2 separate regions of the Homo sapiens genome follow, and region 1 is linked to region 2. Evidence: promoter capture Hi-C in 16 types of primary human blood cells and fetal thymus (Javierre and others, 2016). All regions are on one chromosome and are shown on one strand. Each heading gives the region's core, a stretch centred on a gene start or on the middle of the fragment in contact. The rest is flanking DNA. Distances are from core to core; before and after follow the strand shown. Region 1 overlaps MACROD2 (mono-ADP ribosylhydrolase 2). Region 2 holds the start of FLRT3 (fibronectin leucine rich transmembrane protein 3).

What was found. Contacts are between HindIII fragments. The CHiCAGO score rates a contact against its expected background, and 5 or more counts as called.
Region 1: a contact is called between a fragment that was not itself captured here and the fragment with the promoter of FLRT3 in region 2, in 2 of 17 cell types (megakaryocytes and endothelial precursors). The highest score is 6.7, in megakaryocytes.

What each region holds. Positions count from the first base shown.
Region 1 is chr20:15,250,457-15,255,739 of GRCh38, forward strand. The region is part of intron 6 of MACROD2 (mono-ADP ribosylhydrolase 2); the gene reads left to right. Among named protein-coding and RNA genes, the nearest start is that of MACROD2-AS1, 320 kb to the left of the region's middle. The HindIII fragment of the contact is 2,406 bases long and covers 647-3,052 here.
Region 2 is chr20:14,334,937-14,340,367 of GRCh38, forward strand. It overlaps FLRT3 (fibronectin leucine rich transmembrane protein 3), which reads right to left and starts at 2,676. Exons shown (of 3, transcript NM_198391.3): 1 at 2,468-2,676. All of the region lies in intron 3 of MACROD2 (mono-ADP ribosylhydrolase 2), which reads left to right. The HindIII fragment of the contact is 777 bases long and covers 1,928-2,704 here.

The sequences.
Region 1 (5,283 bases), core at 600-3,099, 910 kb after region 2:
TAGCTTATGATAAATTAGCATGAGTGCCTAAGATGGGATATAGATTCTTGAAAAAAGGTGAACATATAAGTCAAAGGATTGAGAAAAATGTAAGAATGTATGTGAAATAATAAGCCTTTACTCTTTTTCTTCTTGTTTATCATTTCAACATTTTATGTTGTGATTTTCTGTGTATATGCCACAGGACCTTTGCATATGCCATCCTCTGTGTTTAGGGGGATCTTCCTTCTCCCTTCACCTGAGTTACCTGCCTCCCTTCTTATCCTTTGGATCTCAGCTCTGTCTTCTCTTCCTTGGGAAAAAGTTTTACATTTATATTTGTATGCTTATTTGAATATTTTTCTTCTTCCTCCCCAGTTCATGAGCTCCATGAGGGTAGGGACAAGGTCTGCCCTGCTAATTATTGGATCCATAATTGAGTATATTGCCTAACATGTAGCAGGCATTCAGTAAATGTTTGTAGAATGAATGTAGAATGAATAAATGAATGTTGAATCTATGAAAGCTTCATGTTTGCATCAAGACCTGATGACTATTCTGAAGCAGTGGGATGTAGTTTTTCCAAGAGAGAGTAGGAATGTTGTCTACATTGTGAGAACAGAAAGGATTTAGGCAAGGGCCAGCAGGGAATGGAATTTTAGTTCCAAGCTTGAAAGAAATTGGGAATCATTTTAGGTTTCCGAAAAAAGGGGTAGGGGTCAGATGATCAAAATTGGGCTGAATGCAACACAGAAAGTTCTGTTTATTTAACCACTTGCAATATTTCACTTCAAAATGGATTCCCTGCCACTGAGAAGCTGCCATGTTTTCATTTGCTGGAACGTGGTGAAGTTAGATAAATGATAATGCCATGTCTTTGTTCATTCCTCAGTTAGAAAGCCTCAGCCTTAAATGCTCCCCAGTGCAAATTCTCACTGAATAAACATGGAGTGTATTGTTTTACAACATGCTGCTCAATGACATTGCAGCACATTTGGCACTGCTGAGCATTTCAGGATGAGGAGGCAGAAAATAACAACAGCAAAAAGCCCATAAAACAAATTGCATCCCCTATATTCCTTAATGAAGGACTTGGGTGTAAGTTGCATCAACGTCAGAGAATACTCATTCATTGCAAAGGTTTGGGAAAATCATATTTATGCATAATCTCCTTGTTCTCAATGATATTTTATTAATATTTATTTCCCTTTTGCCTTTCATCTGGTGTTATCTTCTTTTCTTTTTCATCTTTATTTTCCAAGTGACTAGCTGAAAAGAAAAACAGTGAATCGGTGCTAAGTTGCTATTTTTTCAATTTTAAGGGACTGATTCTTAATCAAGTTACTATTTTAAATGTTTAAATTGAGAAAGTTCCGGGTAACAACCTAAAAAATGTAAATACATACCACACAGTTAATTAATGTTTCTGAATTGCTACTGTTTGAAGTTGATAAGCCCCATGTATGAATTCCTCAGCTCAAAGCTGAGGGAGTTATATTAAGAAGACAGTAGAAAATAAAAATAATTAGCTAGTGTTTTGTAAGGAGGGAACATAAATGGTATCTGTGTGGCTCTAACTTTATCAATTCAGTCTGTTGATTTCAAAATTCAGTCATTTGAGATATTTGGTATTATGCAGATTTTAGGCAGCATGTGAACAAAGGGCTAAGGTAAGGATTATTGTATTGCATGTATTTCTGTGAACTAATTTTGAGGAGCTATACTAGGCTTCTGTTTTATGTGTATCTATAAGCATTTTACAAAACAATTCCATATGTATTGCTAATTAAATAAATTCATCTCAAAGTTTGTTACAAACTCAATCAAGTGTTTGAGATGTAGAAGGAACATATAGTTTAATCCTGTACCAGTCAGGATAGCCTAAGTCATGCTGAAGTGGCAAGTGATCTCAACATTTCTGCAGCTTACAGCCACAAAGATTGAGTTCTTACTCAGGCTAGATGTCCATAGAGGCAGCTCCAGCTCCACTACACATCACCTTCACTCTGGGACTGGCTGACAGAGCTGTCTCTCTCTGGAACTGTTGCTTGTCACAACAGTGAGAGAGAGAAGGCGGTTCTTAAAGCTACATATGGCTTACTGTCACATTTCATTAACTAGAAGAAGTCATTCGGCCATACCTACATTGAACAGGACAGGGAGACAAAGAGGGATAATCCTCCCTCAGGAAAAAGGTATCAAATACTTGTGATTAGTCTACCACTCACTCCTTCATATTTTGGATATGAAAAACATCACCAGAAGGATTAAGAAACTTGGCCAAGATCACTTGCAAAGCTGGGATTGGACCACATTCCTGTGACCCAATTGCAGACATTCCTGTGACTACATCCAGTGTCTCCTTGTATGCAAATTTGTGGACACACCATGGCATCCACAGACTCACCAGAGAAGGATGCCACCTACAGAGCCAGCTGCTCACCAGAGCCTGGCTTGCATCATGGCATCACTTTGATGGGGTCAGCATATTCGCCCCTTGACTCTGTAGGTCCAAAATTTGCATCTGTTAATGTATGCTGTATCAGTCAGGATTCAGTCATGGAGGTAGAACCGTATACATTTTGGTGCAAGGAATTTATTATAGGAATTAGTACTTAAACCATGTGGGAGGAACTAGGAAAATGAAGAAACAAGGGAGGAGTTGAAGGCCAAACCAGCTACTTTGATAAGCCAAGTGTGTTCAGTCATCAAAATAGGCAGGAAAGGGAAGGTTTTTGGGAGTCCAGTGGGATGTTGGGCTTCGGTGTGGCTACCACTGCTGTAGGACCACCACTAACCATTTAGGTAATGCCTATGGCTGCTTTTGCACTATGACAGCAAAATTGCATAGTTGTAATTAAGACTCAATGACCCACAAGCCTATGATATTTACTATCTGGCCTTTTACAAAGTTTCCTGACCCCTGGTCTATAGTTCAGAAGATTGATTTGCTGATCTATAGTAAGAAACTCAGCTATGCAGCAGGTCCAGCAACTACACAGTTCCAAGATAAGATATCATTTCCCCATTGTTAAATCTATGTGCAAAGCTAACTTATGATTAAATTATGGTAAGCTTAACTGTAATACAAGGAATCATTTCATACTATTTGTAAAGCAGTGAACACTAGCGTAATAAGTTATGATCGTGGAGGCTACCACCTGCACCATCCATACCCCGAGGGCTGGACACTCATAACTATGGGTGAGGCCATTCCTTCCGCTGGGGCAAGAATAACTATAGATGCCTATGGGAAACTGATACAATCTCATTCTCTACACTTCCTTTATATGCTGAAGGTCACAATCTTTATTCTTGCTTAGTGAAGAGAGAATCGACTGAGCTACATCCACACACTATTCACCATAATGAGAATTGGAATATTACTTCAAATTCTGCAGTCACCGAAGCAAAATCTGTAACAGGGTGGATTTCAAAAATTATTTTTTATCAAGGCATAACCTCATTTATTTTAGGTTCATGGATGTAATTTTATTCTCCAAGGTAACCTTATCTTCAAATTTTATAGGTCTCATGCTGTCCCCCATCCTGTATCACCTACAGGTGACTTTTCCTTGATATGACTTATAGAACATTAACAGTGCTTTCTTTTCAATCATACTCCGATTTGGTTAGTTCCAACTTAGGGGACACTTACTTTAAAATGTCTCTTCACCCTGCAGGAAACGAGTTTATTAGTGAAACTTTCAACGGATATTTTTATTCCATTTATGCCATTTATCTCTCCATGCCTTGTGAGGCAAAGGAGTGGTGTTTCACCAGGTTAAGAGGTAATTGATCAAGATTCAGTTCAAAAAAAGTGTAAACAGTACAGATCTTAACTCTCTTCAGTACTTTTAATCAAAAAGGAAAATCAAAGCGTATCAGCCAGAATCATCAATAACTCTTGGTGGATGTTCAAATGCAGTGACCTCTTGACACTTCCACTGCCTTCAGTTTTTGTTTTTATCATTTGTTGCTTAGCAGCACGGGGGGAAAGAGCAGGACTGTAGCTTGGATTTAAGCTCCTCATTTACTAGCTGTGCCCTTTTATCAAATCGTTTAATACTGGGAGCCCCACTTTTCTCATCTGTAGACTGGGGATATTAATGGCTCCTATCTCAAGCAGTTTTAAGAGTTAGGTAAGTTGATATTGAACTAATTTGACATTAATGTTAAATACTTATCATAGTACCTGAGTATACCTGAGGGCATATCCTTCATTCATCTAACAAACAAGGTGCTAAAGACACTATTATAATTATCACAGTAGTTCTATGAGGTTGCTATGATTATCTTTTTTGTTTGTCTTTTAACAAAGAAACAGAGAATCAGAGCAGTTAAATGACTTCCTTGGTCATAATCCTAGAGAATTTTAGAGCTAGAGATAGAATTCAGATCTATCTGACTACAAAGCCCAAGCTTGTGGACTTACCCTCCATTTGTCAAACGTGAATTCCTTGAATTGTAAACCATTTGGGGCCAAAGCACACCTTTTTTTTTTTTTTTTTTTTTTTTTCAGTTAAGAAGCTGGTAATTGAGTGAACACAATATAGTGGTACTTCAGTTAACTGGAGCTCCTGGGGATACATCATTCTGGACAGCCTAGCATTCCAGAAAGCTTTGGGTATTTGCCAAAACTTTAAAAATGTTGTTTAATTTAGATAGAACCCTCCATAAAATATATATTTCTCTATCTTCTTAAACAGATTATATTGAACCTGATTTAAGATTACATTAACTCAGTCATTTATCATCGTGAACTTCATTTTTATCCTGTACTCTCTAATGTAAGAAGATTCTGAGGTTTTATTGAAATAAAGAGGGATATCATTGACCTAGTCTGTTATGCATTTTTAAGTTCCTGTGTTTGATTTGTAAAGTTTAGGTGCTTCCTGTCCAAGCACTTGCCACTTCTCTTTGCCTATTTGAATTGTCAGTCTCCCACAAGACCACCTGAAAACTCTGTTGACGAAGCAAAACTAGGTTTATTAAACCTATGGTACAATTGGCAATCATCACTTTGACAGTCTTGGCAGTATTTCAAAATGAGGGAATTAGGTTGACATTTACATGGTAGGGTATGAACTGGGTGGTTTTAAGGTGAGTCTCACAAGATAGGAAATTGTCTGGGATTGGGTAGAGTTGATAACATAAGAGCTCTGGAGGGCACAGTGAGGTGAAAGATTTAAAGCAAGTGTTGATGATCAAGTCATTGGTAGTAATAAGCAAGCTCTTTCAGTTGGGTCACAGTTATATTTTACAAGAGCACGTATTTCTTTGAGTAAGAAGCTCAGTTATTTT
Region 2 (5,431 bases), core at 1,426-3,925:
AGTTAAGAAATGACTGAAATGGCAACTATAAACCAATACTTTTTCATTGACCAGATTTAATATTGGTATGAACATTGGCATATCAAAAATGAAAAGCAAGAAAGAAGAAACATTAATATATTATTAAGACAAGGCCAATTCCCTGCACTGATTTTTGTAGGGCTTAAAACTGTTCAAAATAATCCAGAAAAAGGAGGAAGCCTTAGGGTGTGTGGCCAAGAAAAGCACAGAAAAATCTCTCTGCAGTGCACTTGCATGTTTAAAGCTGATTATTGTATTTTTCATCTAGAGAGACTGAGTGTTCATTAGGGTCTTGTGTCCCTAGGCAGGAGATGCTGAGCATAATTGGAGTTTCTATTTGATTGGGCAATATAGTCTAGAGAAGAAACTGGGGTAAAGATAATTAATAGCTTGCTAACAAAGTCTGACAGCCACAAGATTTCAACCAAATTTATTTCACACTGCTTCATTTAGCTCTGAAAAAGTTTTGATAGAATTGTAGGCTCCTTAATTAACACTTGAAAGCAAAAGAAACATACCTTCTATTTTGCTGCCACATTTAGTTATGACAGATTTTCTTACTGTTTTTCTTCTTTTTGTAAAAACTTTATTTGCTATCCAATTATATATCTCACAAACGTTATGTTTGGGAAGTGTTTAATTGTGCATTTTGAACCCAGTCATAATTGATTTTAAAGGGTGGGGTGCAGCGAAATGAAAAACCCAATTAGTAACTGGTAGACAGTTTTACAGAACCGCAATATTAATGAATTCATTATGTTTATTCATTCACTAATATTTTGCTGATCCTTGGACTTGATGTGTTTTGGTTGTGCTCTTCAAAAAATCAAATTTTAGTTTTCTTAGTAAATCTATGCGTTTTTGTAACTCTGTTTTTATTTCAGGGTAATAAATAGATGTGCGTTTGTCTGTGTGTATATATATGTGTCCAAACTAAGGGGCATATCTCTGATTTAATTTTCCCATGGTAAAACCTGGCATATTATCATTAATATTTGTAGTAGTTGGTAATGTTGATATTATTGATTGTGGCACTTTTAAAGGATTAATTTTTCTTTACTCATTTCGGAAGAGATGAATATTAGTCATCTGTCACTTTGGGTCAGGTATAAGTGATTCTCCCTGAATATAAGCAAATTTATTCTTTATGTTTAGGCTGGTCAGGATATTTTTATGCAGTCAGAGATAAATGAAAGGCATTGCTACAGCTGAAGGACTTTTCTAGTGGCTTTATTTATGTTGTTTCTGGATAATAAAATAACATAGATGAGCATTTTAGACAGATTTATTAATAGACAGATTTATTAAGAATGTTTAAAATAGCCTTATTATTAAAACCATTAGAGATTTTGGACTAAAAATTGAAAAAAAAATCAATTTTTTTTCTTTTAAATTCTAAATAAAATAATAAAAACAAACCCCCCAGATGTTGAGAAGACATGGATGGGCCTGTTGCACTCTTTACCTATATGCAACCATTTTGTTTCAGACCTAATTCAGTGAACAAAATTTTTTGAGAAGATACATTTAACTACTTTTTCAAGCTTTGTAGTATAAATGCATTTCTTCCAATATAAGATTTTCCTATTATAAGTTGCAAAGAATGGATCCTCTGCAAAACCCACTTGATAAGGGCTCTACTCATTTATTTTTCTTTCCTGCTACCCCAAACTCACTGCATACATCAGGCATAGCTTCCAGGGTGAGCTTTGTTAGTTTTTCTGAGTAGACTTAGCCATTTACTATGCTAGTCACATACTTCACTTGCCTAAGCAATGGATTTTGGTGTTCTATTGAAGAGGGAATATGGTTTGGAAGAGTGTCTCCCCCTCCTCTGAGTTCAATTTACTAGTTGAGATTTGCAAGCCTGAAATGCTTGAAGCAGCTCAGGCACGATAGCAGTGCAAGCTTTAAAATCTAGGTGTAGCTGTTAATCCTTTACAGAGGCACATAAGTCTCCAGGAGTAGCTCGGCTAGCTGTGAGCAAGATGTATGCTTTTCATGTACTGCGTACTCATGGGCTGAGGGATTATTGATTTTCTTTCACAGTTGTAAAAACAGCAATTGGTGATCATCCCACACGTACAGTACACACCAAGTTGCTTTCCTATCTGTGAAGAATCTCCTTGTATTCTTTAATATTTAACATTGAACTTTCCAACTTGCTGTTTTCCATAAGGCTCTTTTCACATAGCAATTACTCAAGACAGAAAATAGCCACTTACTATCTTTTATAAATGAAAGAAGGTTCTAAGAAACTTCTTACATTCAGCCATGATAGTGAAATTTTTCATTGCTGGCTTGCACGCACATATATTGCTTGTTGTGGTGACAGAGCAAACGTTCCTATTTGGATTTCTCATAGTATCAAGTCGTTTCTTTCTAGAGAGTAAAACCAAGCAAACTTTCTGGGACAATCATAAGAAAAAACATGGAAAACACTTACCAGGAAGACGAGAAAAAGCAATCCTATATACACTGCCGCTATAGCTGTAATTCCATTGACAGTGAATTGGAGTAATAGCCCTCCCCCGTCTCCCAAGCTCTGCGTCCAGTCCACACAAAGCCCACGGCAGCTGCAGGCTGAGCTTGTCCTGCTTCAGATCACTCCTACACTGAGGAGTGAGCGAGGGAGAGCATTCCAGTTTACTGCACACAGCCCACCTCCAAGTCTGAAGTTTAAAGCTTCACCTCGCAGTGGCTGAAGAAGGGGGTGATGTCATAGATGGGCAGGACTTAGCCAAGATCTTGTTCAGTGAGGTAACTGGATAATCAGACAGATGAGCTTTGCAAACGCTAGAGGGGGCGAGAGCAGCCAAAATGAAGCATCAGCCTGCCAAAGCTAGGATGCCATTTGGTTTGTAGGCAGCCCTTTGGAATCTCAACATTTTCTAAAGTTTACTACAAGGCAGTGGTAGCATACTTATGTATTTTTTTTAAAAAGCATGTTAGAAAGATATTTTTAAGATCACAATAGAAAAAGACAGGCTTTGTCTTATTTTTAAACCATCTGTATTGAAAAGAAGTTAACCAAAATCAAATTAGTTTTATTATTCACTAGCTAAAATAATGTTATAATTGTGGAAGATGTATGCCAGTAATCCCAACTGTGAATGTTTATTCAACATATGAATAAACAGCAGATTCAAATATATACATCAGGGCTGGGTGTGGTGGCTCACGCCTCTAATTCCGGCACTTTGGGAGGCCGAGGTGGGAGGATCACCTGAGGTCAGGAGTTCGAGACCAGCCTGACCAACATGTAGAAAAAATTAGCTGGGCGCCCGTAATCCCAGCTGTTTGGGAGGCTGAGGCAGGAGAATCACTTGAACCCGGGAGGCAGAGGTTGCAGTGAGCCAAGATTGCACCATTGCACTCCAGCCTGGGCAACAAGAACGAAACTCCATCTCCAATATATGTATATATATACACGTGTCACTGATTCATTTAGTTATGGGAAGGGCAATAGGAATGCCAAAAGATTTTTTTAAATGGTATTAAATGGTCTGTTCTTTTGGAGGCGAAGAAGTTACTGTTCTCTATGTTTTAGAAAATGAAAGTATGTTTTATGTACTTCTGCTACGTGTTTATATTATTTAAAATGGATTATTTATATTTAACGATCCCCCAATAAAATGTTTTTAAAAAATTTAATAGAATATTTTCCTTTCTAAATGTTTTTGCTGATCTGAGCATGGGTTTAGATATAAACATCTTAAGAAAAAAATCTTTCAGGGTGGTTTGCCTGGATTGAAATTATTTTAGTTTAATTTAGGTACATGAATAAACACTGGACAATTGTAAGACGTGGAGATTATAAATTTCTATGCCTAATTAACAGAATTATACTTGTATTTTTAATTATGATTTTTGTAGACTGGTTTCTGCTATTTGGTCAACAATTGCTTTGTGCCCGTAAGTTTTCCATCAAATAAGTGTATTTCACTTGTTCATGTTGGTGGTAAGAACTTAGCTTTTATATTTACCTGGAGGACCGTTGTCTTAAACTAATATCTTTATTTGCTCTATTCTTAGAGGTGCATGACCTTCTCCTTTGTCCTTTCTCAATTTTTCCCTGCATGTTTATTTCTGAAGAAGGCCAGCTAATAGTCTTTCCCAGGACTATTTGATTGTGGTCTCTTCATTAGCTTCATTTAGTTTATCTATTTATATATTTGTTTGATAACAGTTTGACCTGAGTTCCCTTCCAAGAATGGGTGATATCAAAGTAGGTGAACCCTTGATAAGAAATGTATTGACCCTATTGTTCTATGATTGCACTTTTGTGGGCCTCAGAGGACAGACCCATTAAATCTAGGAGTTTTAGATTCTAATGTCCATTGAAAAGCCAATTTCTTTGAACTGCTAGGTAGTACAATTAAACTGATATGCAGCAGCTGAATTTTGGGAGGAAAGGGAGGTGGATATTTTTCTGTTACTATGAAACAAAGACATGGATTAAATTATTTTATTAAATAATTATTTCTAGAAGCCATTTTCAGATAGGAGTTGGTTCTGTTTAAAAAAGAAAATTTTTGCCTGGTCAAATTCCTGTGGGTTTATAGCCATATTTAATCAGTTTCGTCTTCATTCAGGCAGGCCTTAAACAGAAAAGAAAAATCAATTGGTGAATTGGGTTATAGGTATCAAAAATAAATTGTACTGGCCTGGGAGTTAGCAGTTTGGAGGTTTCCCTTCTCTGGGCTGCCATTGTTATATGACTTCATATTTGTTGCCCTAGGCTTTGGTTTCATCACTTGACAAATAAAGGCAGCAAGGATTTATTAAATGCCAATTATTTTTTGTTGCTTTTTTTCCCCTTTTAAGCTATGGATTAAAATATGGGAAAAGAAAAGAAATTGTGAAAATATATTCTATACTGGGGTACTGACTTTGGGGGCAAACTCTTAGTAGAATCTGTGGCCTCCTATTCTGTCCAAAAATATATACTCTTTTGCTGCATACATAGTTTTTCACTTCCCGCTCTTATCAGCTACCTGAAATGCTACTAGTTGAAGGTGAATTTATAATAATGTGTGCCCCCTTTGAAATAGTATGTACAATCTCTGGAAACATGAGGTTATCATGAGTTACTTCAGATTGCCCTCCTCTTTTGTTTTCTAAGGCACTTTGGCTACAATAAGGGGATGACTGTTTTGATTGAAGGGGATGGAATGCTGGCAATCTTTAGCATGAAACCCTTTTGGCTGTAATAGGAAGGGAGGAGGTGGATTCTCATATCAGGAAGGACTTGGCTCAGGGTAGAGGACAACCAGTGTAGTAGACCTGGGTAGTTTAAGAACATGGGCTTCAGAGATTAGCACAGCTGGGCTCCATGTTGGCTTTGCCACATGACTGTAGACAAATTACTTAATCTCTTTGAGTTTGTTAGCTCAGTGCCTGACTCATA